Regions from separate parts of the Homo sapiens genome. Here region 2 is linked to region 1. Evidence: promoter capture Hi-C in 16 types of primary human blood cells and fetal thymus (Javierre and others, 2016). All regions are on one chromosome and are shown on one strand. Each heading gives the region's core, a stretch centred on a gene start or on the middle of the fragment in contact. The rest is flanking DNA. Distances are from core to core; before and after follow the strand shown. Region 1 holds the start of DDX53 (DEAD-box helicase 53). Region 2 has its middle 8.4 kb from the start of PTCHD1.

Region 1 (5,453 bases), core at 1,269-3,768:
AGCATACACAATATTGAAAGTTGATAAACCCCCATGACACGTGTTTCTTTAACAAACCTTCACAAATACCCCCAAACCTAAAATAAAAGTATTTTTAGGAGAAATTAAACTTTAACCAACACATAACATTTACCTTCTCTTCACATAGTCTCTCTCTCATTTTTGAGACTTTTTCTAAAATTAAGGAACATACACAATATTGAAAGTTGATAAACCCCCATGGCACGTGTTTCTTTAACAAACCTTCACATATACCCCCAAACCTAAAATAAAAGTATTTTTAAGAGAAATTAAACTTTAACCAACACGTAACATTCACTTTCTCTTCACACAGTCTCTCACTCTCTCATTTTTGAGACTTTTTTAAAATTAAGGAGCATACACAATATTGAAAGTTTAGCAGTATTATTTAAGAATTAGTTATGTCTTCAAATGGCTAGTATGTTTCCAATACTTCCTTACATATATTCAATACTGCATATCTTTAACATGCCTGGAATCTTCCAGTAGCCTGGTACAACTTTTCAACTTAAAAAATAAAACTCCTTGCGTCTTTGTCCAGGTTTTCTTGATCGTGTTTCTCTGTGCCTCTTTTGTTGATTTAACTTGTATTGCTCAGCCATTACTACAAGATCTTCCGGAACACTCTGATTTGCTCTGTCCAGAATTTTAATCAATTCACCGGCCATTTTCGAATCTCTCTGAGTGATGAGGGTAACTGATGTGCCAGTCTTTCCTGTCCGTCCAATGTACCCTACTCTGTGTACATATACGTCAATATTCCTTGGGAAATCATAATTATATACATGTGTGACATCATTAAGATCAAGACCTCGGGATACTATATCAGTTGTAATCAGTATCTTTATGTTTCCGCTTTTAAAGTCCTCTACTGCTCGCTCTTGATCACTCTGTTCACTGTTGCCATGTAATGATTCTGCAGATATGCCTTGGATATTGAAGTCGCTTGACAAGTCATCAGCAATATGTTTTTGGCTGACAAACATGATGACTTTGTCGTTGGGTGACATGTTCTCTACGAATTCTTGGGTGAGAGCTCGTTTTTCTTTTTCTGTGGTAACAATTATATTTTGCTTCACTGTATTTACAGCCACTAGATTCAGATTACCAACATAAACAATCATAGGATCTTTCAAATAAGAAAGTGCTAGTTGACGTACAGTATCTGGCCAAGTTGCACTTGTCATAACAGTCTGTCGGTCTGGGCGCACATCTAATAAAATCTTCCTTATCTGGGGTTCAAATTCCATATCCAGCATTTTATCTGCCTCATCTATAACCAAGTAGGTTATGCTTCTTAGGTTGACAGAGTTATTCATTTGTAGGTCATTCAGCCTCCCAGGAGTTGCAATAATGATATCTACACCTTTGCTAATGTCTTCTATTTGTCCATTTCTGTTTCTACCACCATATATGCAAATGCTTTTGAGACCTTTATATGAATACTTTGAACATTCAGCTTCCACGTGAAGAGCCAACTCTCTAGTGGGTGTAAGGACTAGCATCCCAGGCCCATTCCTTTGCTCTCTAGATATTGGTTGAGAATCAAGATGAATAAACCCAGGCATTAGATAGGACAATGTTTTCCCTGTTCCGGTTTGTGCAACTACTATAAGATCTATTCCTTGTAGAATAATTGGCCATGCCTGTGACTGAATTGGCGTTGGCTTTACAATCCCTACCCTTATTATGCTTTTCAGAAGATCAGGGTATTGCTGAAAAGCGTCTTTAAACCTGCAAGTTGGTTTTGGAATGAGACGCTTTTCACCACTTTTCAAGTCATCACACGTTATGTTGAAATTTTCCTTTCTCCAGTTAATCACCTGCATTTCAGACATGCAGCTTGTTGCTTTGGATTCTATGTAAAAGTTTTTCTTAACTGGTGGTAGATCTGCCCATTTTCTCTTTTCGCACTCCACGACTGCTGCCCTAATGCGATCCCAATTTGACAATGGCTCAGCTTCTCCAACAATGTCATTTCTGCCTAGATTTCTTCCAATAGGGGTTTGGGATGCAGCATTATCCACACTGGATTCTGAGTTGTAGCTTTCTTGTTTTCTAATAAGTGTTTCTATAGCCGCTTTGGCCTTTGCTTTCATTTCCCTATTGCCAAAAATTCTGACTTTTGCTTCAGATTCCCCGTTTATGATCTGTATTTTAGTGTTTGTCGAATGTTGTAGATCTTTTATTTTTGATCCACTGTAACCAATGACCACACCAACCATATTGTTCTTTATTTTAAAGCAGAGTGGTGGTTCACGGGAGCCTGCTGCTCTCGGTCCCTGATGGCCGAAGGGGCCACTCCAGCCACTGCCTCTGCTGCCCCTGACATCCCAGCTGGCCCCAAGGTCTCTTGGATTAGCCTCCGCCCTCTTCCACTCTGGGGCCCAGTGGGACATTGTGGGATAGTGGGAGTATCGGCACCGGCTTCTCGCCTACATACGGTTGGAAGTTCAGGTCTGCGGCCTGTTTCCCGTCACCTTCTGCACCAAAAGATGGCGGTGGCAATTATTTCCGGGTGCTAGTCACATAGCTACGCAGAAGTTGCCCCAGAAACCAGTGTTGGCGTCGAATTCCGGGTCGTGTAGGGGGCGAGGCTTTGATGGCCTGACCAATCACAGGGCTTGGACTGGGGTGAGGTAAGCAGGCGTCTGTGACGCAAATTTAAAGAGGCACTCACTCTCACGGGCTGACCCTGCCAGCACTTACAGGACCCTAGGAGTAACTGCCTCCTTAACTTCTGCGTCCCGGGTGCTCCTTTCACTCTTCTCGTGATAGTTCTGGCTCAGCTTGAGAGCAACCTTGAAGCACGCCTTAAACATACACACCATATACACATTGTCCTTTATATAAGCCAGTTATTTCCCTAAGAGAAAAAAATAATGCATTTAAAGTAAAACTATTTATTTATATATTCGTGTGTTCATTTATTTTGGTAAATTTCTTTTGGAGTGAATACAGTACTTTGTCAGGATAAATTCATCATTCCCTGTCCTCTAGTGTAACTTAAATTCTACTAATCAGAAATCTCTTAGGTGCACACTCTAGGACAGCGTTTTGCCTTAATTCATCAACTAAATGTCAACACTTGTTTAGGCAGTTTCCAGATATTATTACAGGGATGATGGTTAGAAGAGAGGTAAAGCAGTGCCTAAGGTACTTTAGGGGCTGTTTTTAGTGGTTTGTCACTTTTCTCAGTGCCTCTTCATTTTTTTTCCTTCCCTGTGGTTTGATAGCTTCTGAGACCTTAGCACTGGAAGGTTGTGTAGAACTCATTTATTAGGTACACGTAGAAGACATTCTAGCTGCAGTCTGGACAGAGGGATATCCAGCTTCCATTTAGACACTCCCAGAGGCAGGGAGCTCACTTCATTTCAAAAATATCCATTCCATTATGAGGCTGTTTAATGGTTACAAAAGTTTTTTGAACCAAAACGTGCGGCTTCCTGTGTCCTTAAGTCCTTCTGAGTTCTGAAGTTATACAGAATAGGCTTGATTCTCCTGTATCCTTGTGTACTAAAGGATCTGTCAAAGTTTTCTTTTTTTTCTTTTTCTTTTCTTTCTTTCTTTTTTTTTTTTTTTTTTTTTGAGATGGGGTTTCACTCTTGTTGGCCAGGCTGGAGTGCAATAGCATGATCTTGGCTCGCTGCAACCTTGGCCTCCCGGGTTCAAGTGATTCTCCTGCCTCAGCCTCCCGAGTATCTGGGATTACAGGTGCCTGCCACCAAGCCTGGCTAATTTTTTGTATTTTTAGTAGAGACAGGGTTTCACCATGTTGGCCAGGCTGGTCTCGAACTCCTGACCTCAGGTGATCCACCCGCCTTGGCCTCCCAAAGTGCTGGGATTACAGGTGTGAGCCACCGCGCCCAGCCTCTGTCAAAGTTTTCTGTGCATCAGGGCAACATTTCCAGTTTCTTCGACGTTTCTTGCTATGACATGGTTTCCAAGACACACATCATCCTATTGCCTCTCCTTTGGAAATGGTTCATTGAGGACCATTTACAATGTAGCACGCAGAACTAAAAAACAGGAAAAGACAAGCAAACAATCTGCAGAAATGGCATTACTCCTACTATTAGGGCATCTTTACTGAGCATGACAATTCTACTAATTTGACCTAAGAACTCCTGAGACACAAAGCTGCTCACAGTAACATGACGTGCATTTAAGTTCTTGCTTCTTTTACTTACTCAGCTGATTTTTTTTTTAATTTGCTTACCTAAATGAAGACTATGTATGTATCCTTTTATAGTCATCTTATTAAGTTTGATCAATTGATGTAACCTATGAAATATAATTTTAATGATTATTCTGTCATCCATCATATTAGTCTCTAGTTTCAAGTCTTCTGCCAATTTAATGTTCATAGCATCTTTGTCTCTTTAGTCAGTCACTGATTAAAATTTCATCATGGTCTAGTATAGGACAGAAGTCTGACACCTTGGGAGAAAACTTCTCTGTGTCAGTACTTTTTGTAAAAGATGCTATTTGAAGAAATAAAAAGGTTTCTGGTCAAATATGTTTGAGAAACACAGCACCCTATATTCTCTCTGTTAAAATCACAATGCTTATTGGATATTTTAGGAGCTATGATATTTACAGACATTGAGAAAAATCAGTTGTTTAATCCAAAGTTCCCCAAACGAATTTGCTAATGGATATCTTCATCAATTATTTAAATAAGCTTTTTATTTGGAATAATTTCAGATTCACAGAACAGTTACGGAGGTAGTGCAGAGAGGTTCCTGTATAGCCTCAGCCAGTTTCAGTTTCCTCTAATCTTATCATATCTCATTATCATGATACATTTGTCAAATATAGGAAAACACTATTGGTGTGTTACCATTAGCTAAATTCCAAACTTTATGCTACCAGTTTTCCATTAATGTATTTTTTCGGTTTCAAGTTCCACTCCAGGACACCATACTGCATTTAGTTATGTACAGTTTGTGAGAGTTTCTCAGTTTTTTCTTATTTTTCATAATCTTTCCAGTTTTGAGGAGTAATGATCAGGAATTTTGTAGAATGTCCTTCAAAAAGGTATGCTTGATGTAACTTCTCATGATTAGACTGGGGTTATGGGCTTTTGGAAGAAAATATCACAGAGATGAAGAGCCTATCTCATCACATCATACTGGGGAGATAGGTACCTGATGTCAACGTGACCCATCATTGGTAAGGTCAACCTCGGTCCCTTGGATAATTTGTGTTATTCAAGTTTTCTACACTGTAAAATTATTATTTCTCCCTTTCCATACTCTATTTTGTGGAATGAGTCACTAAGTCCAGACAACCCTCAAGGGCTCAGTTTGCATTTAAATGCAATCTTTATTATTATTTTTTACAATTAGTAGTGTTCTTTGGAATGTATTTTGGAAACCACTGGTATGGATAAATACAAATTACCTGACCAATTTTTTTTTTTCATCTGG
Region 2 (5,453 bases), core at 1,940-4,439, 330 kb before region 1:
TTCTTGGAGAATGGAATCGCATGCAGAGAAGGTAAAAGTATAACAAGAATTGTCCTTTCAAAGCAGGGAAGCTCCTCTGGCAAACATCAGAGCTCCCTTGAGTAGGGATGTCTCCATCAAGTATCTACTGGGTCTCAGCCATGTTTTGACCAAGAAGCTGTTTTACACACAGCAACACTGTACTCCTTGAAATGGTACCCAAAGAGATTTCTAAAGATAGTTTAAACTTGAAATCGAAAAGAGAAAACGTGTGGCAAGCCTTAATTGTTTGCTTAAGATAAAGAGACACACTGCTGTGTGTAGATGATCCCTGCTGAAAAGTGGGCTAATTGTTATGTCTGGGTCTTCCAGGATGTTCTGCCAACTCAGCAGGCTCTCAAAAGCATCATGAGTCTTTTAGAAGAATGATCCGTGATGATGTAAGGAAAAAAGTCATGCAAAATTATCTTCCTGAATAAACACAGGACTCAGGGCCAAAAGAGAGGTATTTCGTGTTCTGATTTAGGGGAAAACACTTTGGCACACACTCTCTGGATGTCTGTGCTCACAGTGCCACTGGTGAGTTGAGATGGCCAGCTCTAAACCTTTGCTTTGCTTTTTTCTCCTAACAGAAAGCATGGCCATACCTTCTCTCTACCTTTCAAAATCCTCCCTTCCTTCAAGGTTCTCTCAAAATCCCAGCTCACGCATCCAATAAACCTCTGATTGCCACAACAAACATTGATTAATTTAACTCTATTAACTCTGAGCGATTTTATTTGAATTATTTCAGTGAGCAAGTTCCTACTGTGCTTGGCAACTAGGAGAAATTGAGCAAAGAATTCCCTGCTCTCAAGAAATCTGTAGTCTAATATGGTTGAATGAAAATACAGAGGATTAAAATATGAACTTATATAAGGTAAATTTCAGAGAAGTCCTGTTCCATCAGTGTGTGGGATTCATAGAAATCATAAATGATATCTGGCTGGTCCCTGGTCTTAGAATACCTTTAGCCCTAGAGTTAGCATCTTGCTTGCTGTTTTGAGCTTCTTTGTTGTCTGATGTTTCATATATATATCTATATATATTATATATTTTTCCTATTCTCTTAGCAATGTTTTAATTTCCTACAGGCCAAGAACCTTACCTTTTGATTTCACCTTCAGAACTTTGGTGCTAGGATTGAGCACAGAGCAGGCTTGAGTAAATGCATGTTAGTGGCTTATTAGAGTAAAATACACAAATCACTCAAGGAAGATAAGGATGCTGCCACATTCAGACAAATTATTTTTAAAATCATTTTGTTAGAACCAATGATCAGTTATTTTTTAAAAAGTAGTTCACAATTCTGATTTCACATAGTCAAATATTTGTTAGTCCACATGAGAAATTCGAGCTGTAAATAAGATGGATGGGGAGTGCTTATTTAAGAGAAACCCTTTAAATTGGATGTGCATATTTTAATATGCAAAGGAATGTTGCTAACTATAAATGAGTATCTTTTTGCTAAACTGTGCTGAATGGGATACTGGTTCAGACACATTTTACAAGGAACACTTAGAGGCGCTTGGGACATTGAAAGCAGCAAAGTGTATATGCATTTAAAGACTAATCTATAACTCAAGTGGATGGGCACGTAATTGTGTTTCAGCATGCATCAGCCTGCATCCATCAGTGGGCTGGGCTGGTGTCTACTTTCTCTTTCTTCCCTTGGGGTGGTCCTAAAGTTTTAACTTGGTCAAAGAGGATGAGCACTGTATTCTGGAGATGCCTGAGTAATGTCACTTTCTTAATAGCAAACAAGGCACAATTCAGGATTTTCATTAAGTCGCGCTAGTTTCCCCTCTACTGCATCTATATGAGGAGAGTTTAGGTACATTGCTCACTTTCAGCACCAGGGACAGATCTGATATAACCTAGCTACCCCTACCCTTTCCAACTTCCATCACTTGTAAGTTGGTTTTAGAAACATTTTAGAGCTAAAGAGGTTCTATAAAGTAATATAATACAGGAGTTGATCATCTTTTTCTAAGCCAGGCCAATTAAGATGAAAATAAATTTAAATTGGTGGGCCACTAATCCAATATGATCATATTTCAAATTGTGTCCATTACTTTTATACCCTTGTGATGTTTGTATGAGGAGGGAGACATTTAAAGAGAAATGTTAGAAATGACTCTAAAATATAATCTCTTGCAGTTAAGGAGTAATCGTGCTGAAAATTTACAGGAATGATAGAAAATGGGAAAAGAATATTTTTATGCATTTCATGTGCCAAGGTTAGCCCTAGGCACTTTCAAGTGTCTAGCCTATATAATTTGCAAAATCACTCTGTGGGCTATTAAGCATTGTCAAACCCATTTTAAAGAGAGGAAATTGAGGATTAAGGAGATTAAATGTCTTGTGCAGGGTTACACCGTAATGGAAGTATAAATAGAGTGCAGGACTATCTGATATCAAAATCCATGTTTTTCCATTCACTCATTCTGCTGTTAAGCAAAAAATTACTTGATTCCATTTCTAAAATGCCTTGACTAGATTTAAAAACGTTCTAATCAGAAAACATAATATGCCATGAATATTATAAACAATTTAATGTTATTTCTGTATTTGCTATTCATTTAATGGTACTGTAAAATGGCAATATTGTGGCCTATCCATTAATCGGGTTTTCAGTGTTTGGATTCATTTCTAATGTTGGTATTCTTCAGAGGAGTTTTGTGGACCAACAAAAATATTGTATGGAACCCAAAGTGTTTGCTAATCTAATCCAACCCACTCTTTTTGCAGATGGCAAAACTTCTGCAGTCCTTGTCTGAATTCTACCAAGAAAAATCCCTCAAAATGTTAAAACGGAAAACTGTCAAGTGGTTCCAAAATACATAACAGAAAAAGGAACTGAATAGACTCTGACCTTATGCATGTTAAAATGTTTCCATTTTTTAGTTGTTCACCAGTAGTCGTGATATTGCTAAGGGAAAGCTTCTTTAATTCTCTTCCTTTACTGTGTAAAGTGAACAGAGACCATTCTAATCACCAGATCCATTGTCTTACGTTTGAACATAGGGGACATAGGAAAGCAGGGGGTTTCCTGATACAACTCTTAGCTTCGGGGCAGTCTTTCTTTGATGTTTATATATTTAATCCTTTTAAAACTCGTACTCCAGAGCATAACCTAAGAACAAAGCACTTCATCCCTTCTGTTATTAGAACTGTGTACTTCTTGCTTTGACTTTTAAAAATGACAGAGCTACAAGGCATTCTGTTCCCCGTGGCTGATCACTTCCTTCTCATAAATGGCATTATGTTGGTGAATTAATTAATAGTAAAATCTGATTTACATATTCACAAATATTAGAATTGTAGAAAAGTTAAATCAGGAGGCAGCTCCAAGGAGAGGCTAAGTGAGGGAAGACCAAAAAAAAAATCAAAGCTTCCTTTTTTAGACAAAGCACAGAACTTGGCATTTCTAGGGCTGCCCTGCTTCCACCTTCAGGCATCTTCTGAATATTGTAAAGGGGATTATTCTGGACATGGAAAGCTCTGTTCTGCCATGGGTTGAAAGGTTTAGCCTCAGGTGAATGCCATTACCTCCTGCAGTGTGCTAAGCAACAGGAACTAAAGTAGTTTGGGTACTGGCCTAGTCATCAACAGATAAGGTCCTTCATCTGCTCTGTTACATCACTGCAGTTAAGATTTCTATCCTTAAAATGAGAATAATGAAGATGATGATTATGCTATCTCCCTCCTAAGCAGGGTTTCAGATGCAAAAGTTGATGATAAATGTAAAATGCTTTGAAACAAACACATACATTATTGGGCCTTCTAGGTCCAGGACGCTTTGCTAAATGCGGAGCATGAAGAGATGTAAAGACCTTGCCTTCAAGGTGTCCACAGTGCAGTGGAGTGTGGCCAACAAGTGAAACAAGAAAGTTGTGTAGTGTGGCAAGGACTTTGTCGTGCTATGCGATCAGTGAGAAGGTTCCTCTAACCTAGCCTGAAAAGCAGAGTCGGGCAGGGTGGGGCGGCGGGGTTGGAAAAGTTTTAAAGAAGATGTGCACAGATGCCATCTGGTGCTCCATCCTTATCCCCTCCCCCCACCCCCAGAAGTTCATTCTAGGTAGTTTCCATTTACACCGAAGTCTTCCTGCCTCTCTCTGTCTGAGCTGTTTCCTGCCCATGAGACACACTAGAAATGCCAGAGAGCTAACACCTCTAGAAATGACCTTAAATTAATGAGGGATAGGATAAATACCCAGGCTTCTTTGCCTTGCAGTGGGACAACTCAGAGATGTGTTTCTCACAGGCTCTCCAAGAATTCCAATGGAGTGGAGCCCTCATTGTCCACAGCAATAACACACTCATGCTCATTAACACACCCTTTATAAACTTTTCTCTCTTCTCTGTCTCCTTTCTCCATTCCGTTACTCTGCTTTCTGGGAATCTTCTCTGAAATAAACCTCTTGCTTCCACATATTTATTTCAGGATCTGTCTTTAGTGGAACCCAACCAAACACAGGAGATGACATCCAAATGGAGTCTCAAAGGTTAGCAGTTAGTTAAGCCTAATAAATGTGCTGGTATGTAAACTATATTTCAGTAAAGCTGTTAAGTAAAAGAGTTAGCTAACCCACCTATGGAGAGAAAGAATATTCCAGGCAGCGGGAATAACATTCGAAATTATAAGGATGGGATAAAGGGCTTAGCTTGTTTTCGGAAATATGAATAGCTCAGGATGGATAGGCAATAGTTTGGAAAAGTATACAGGAACTAGGTTAAAAAGGAACTTATAAGTTCAAATAAAGAGCTGGGTTTTTATTCTGGAGATGACAGGGAGCCATTTCAGGGCTTTAAAGAGTGTTTATGGCCGGGTTTATGTTTGTTTATGTTTTACAAATCTGGTGGCCACATAGGAGGTGGATAAGGGAAAACAAGACTAGAGGCTAAGAGACCAATTAGGAGGTCATGATAATAGCTATGACAAGAAAGGATTAGGGCCTGAAGCAAGGTAGAGGCCAGTGGGATGGAGACAAAGGGAAGAGTTGATATGTTTTTAGGGAGATAGAATTGGCAGGACTTGGATTATTGAAGAATGGAGCTAAGATACTGCATCGTGATTTCTGATGACATAATGTCATTCCAAATAGCCATGCCAAACCATATCCAACCCCAGAAGTATTAGTTTATTTTTTATTTTTACCAAATTCCACTGAAGAACAGAATTTCTTATCAGAGTGAGGAAGGAAAAAAGGTGGACTGTGTTAAGCTCTAGACTATGACAAATAGAGGGTGATTATGATATTTTGGGAATGAGAGCTGGACAATGGGGACCAGCATCCTGGAAAATGGTCTGGAGAGTCCACAAGGTAGAGGCTACGATCCATTAGATGAAATCCACAGTGTAGAGATTCATGTGGGTTAATAAATGTCCTTCCTTCTCAAATAATTGAGTTAGATTTTAGGACCAGTTGCTT

What was found. Contacts are between HindIII fragments. The CHiCAGO score rates a contact against its expected background, and 5 or more counts as called.
Region 2: a contact is called between a fragment that was not itself captured here and the fragment with the promoter of DDX53 in region 1, in 1 of 17 cell types (megakaryocytes). The highest score is 5.5, in megakaryocytes.

Annotation. Positions count from the first base shown.
Region 1 is chrX:22,997,025-23,002,477 of GRCh38, reverse strand. It overlaps DDX53 (DEAD-box helicase 53), which reads right to left and starts at 2,518. Exons shown (of 1, transcript NM_182699.4): 1 at 1-2,518. The coding sequence starts at 2,420. The coding sequence ends at 525. All of the region lies in intron 3 of PTCHD1-AS (PTCHD1 and PHEX antisense RNA), which reads left to right. The HindIII fragment of the contact is 5,370 bases long and covers 1-4,707 here.
Region 2 is chrX:23,323,724-23,329,176 of GRCh38, reverse strand. No RefSeq gene overlaps it. Among named protein-coding and RNA genes, the nearest start is that of PTCHD1, 8.4 kb to the left of the region's middle. The HindIII fragment of the contact is 451 bases long and covers 2,964-3,414 here.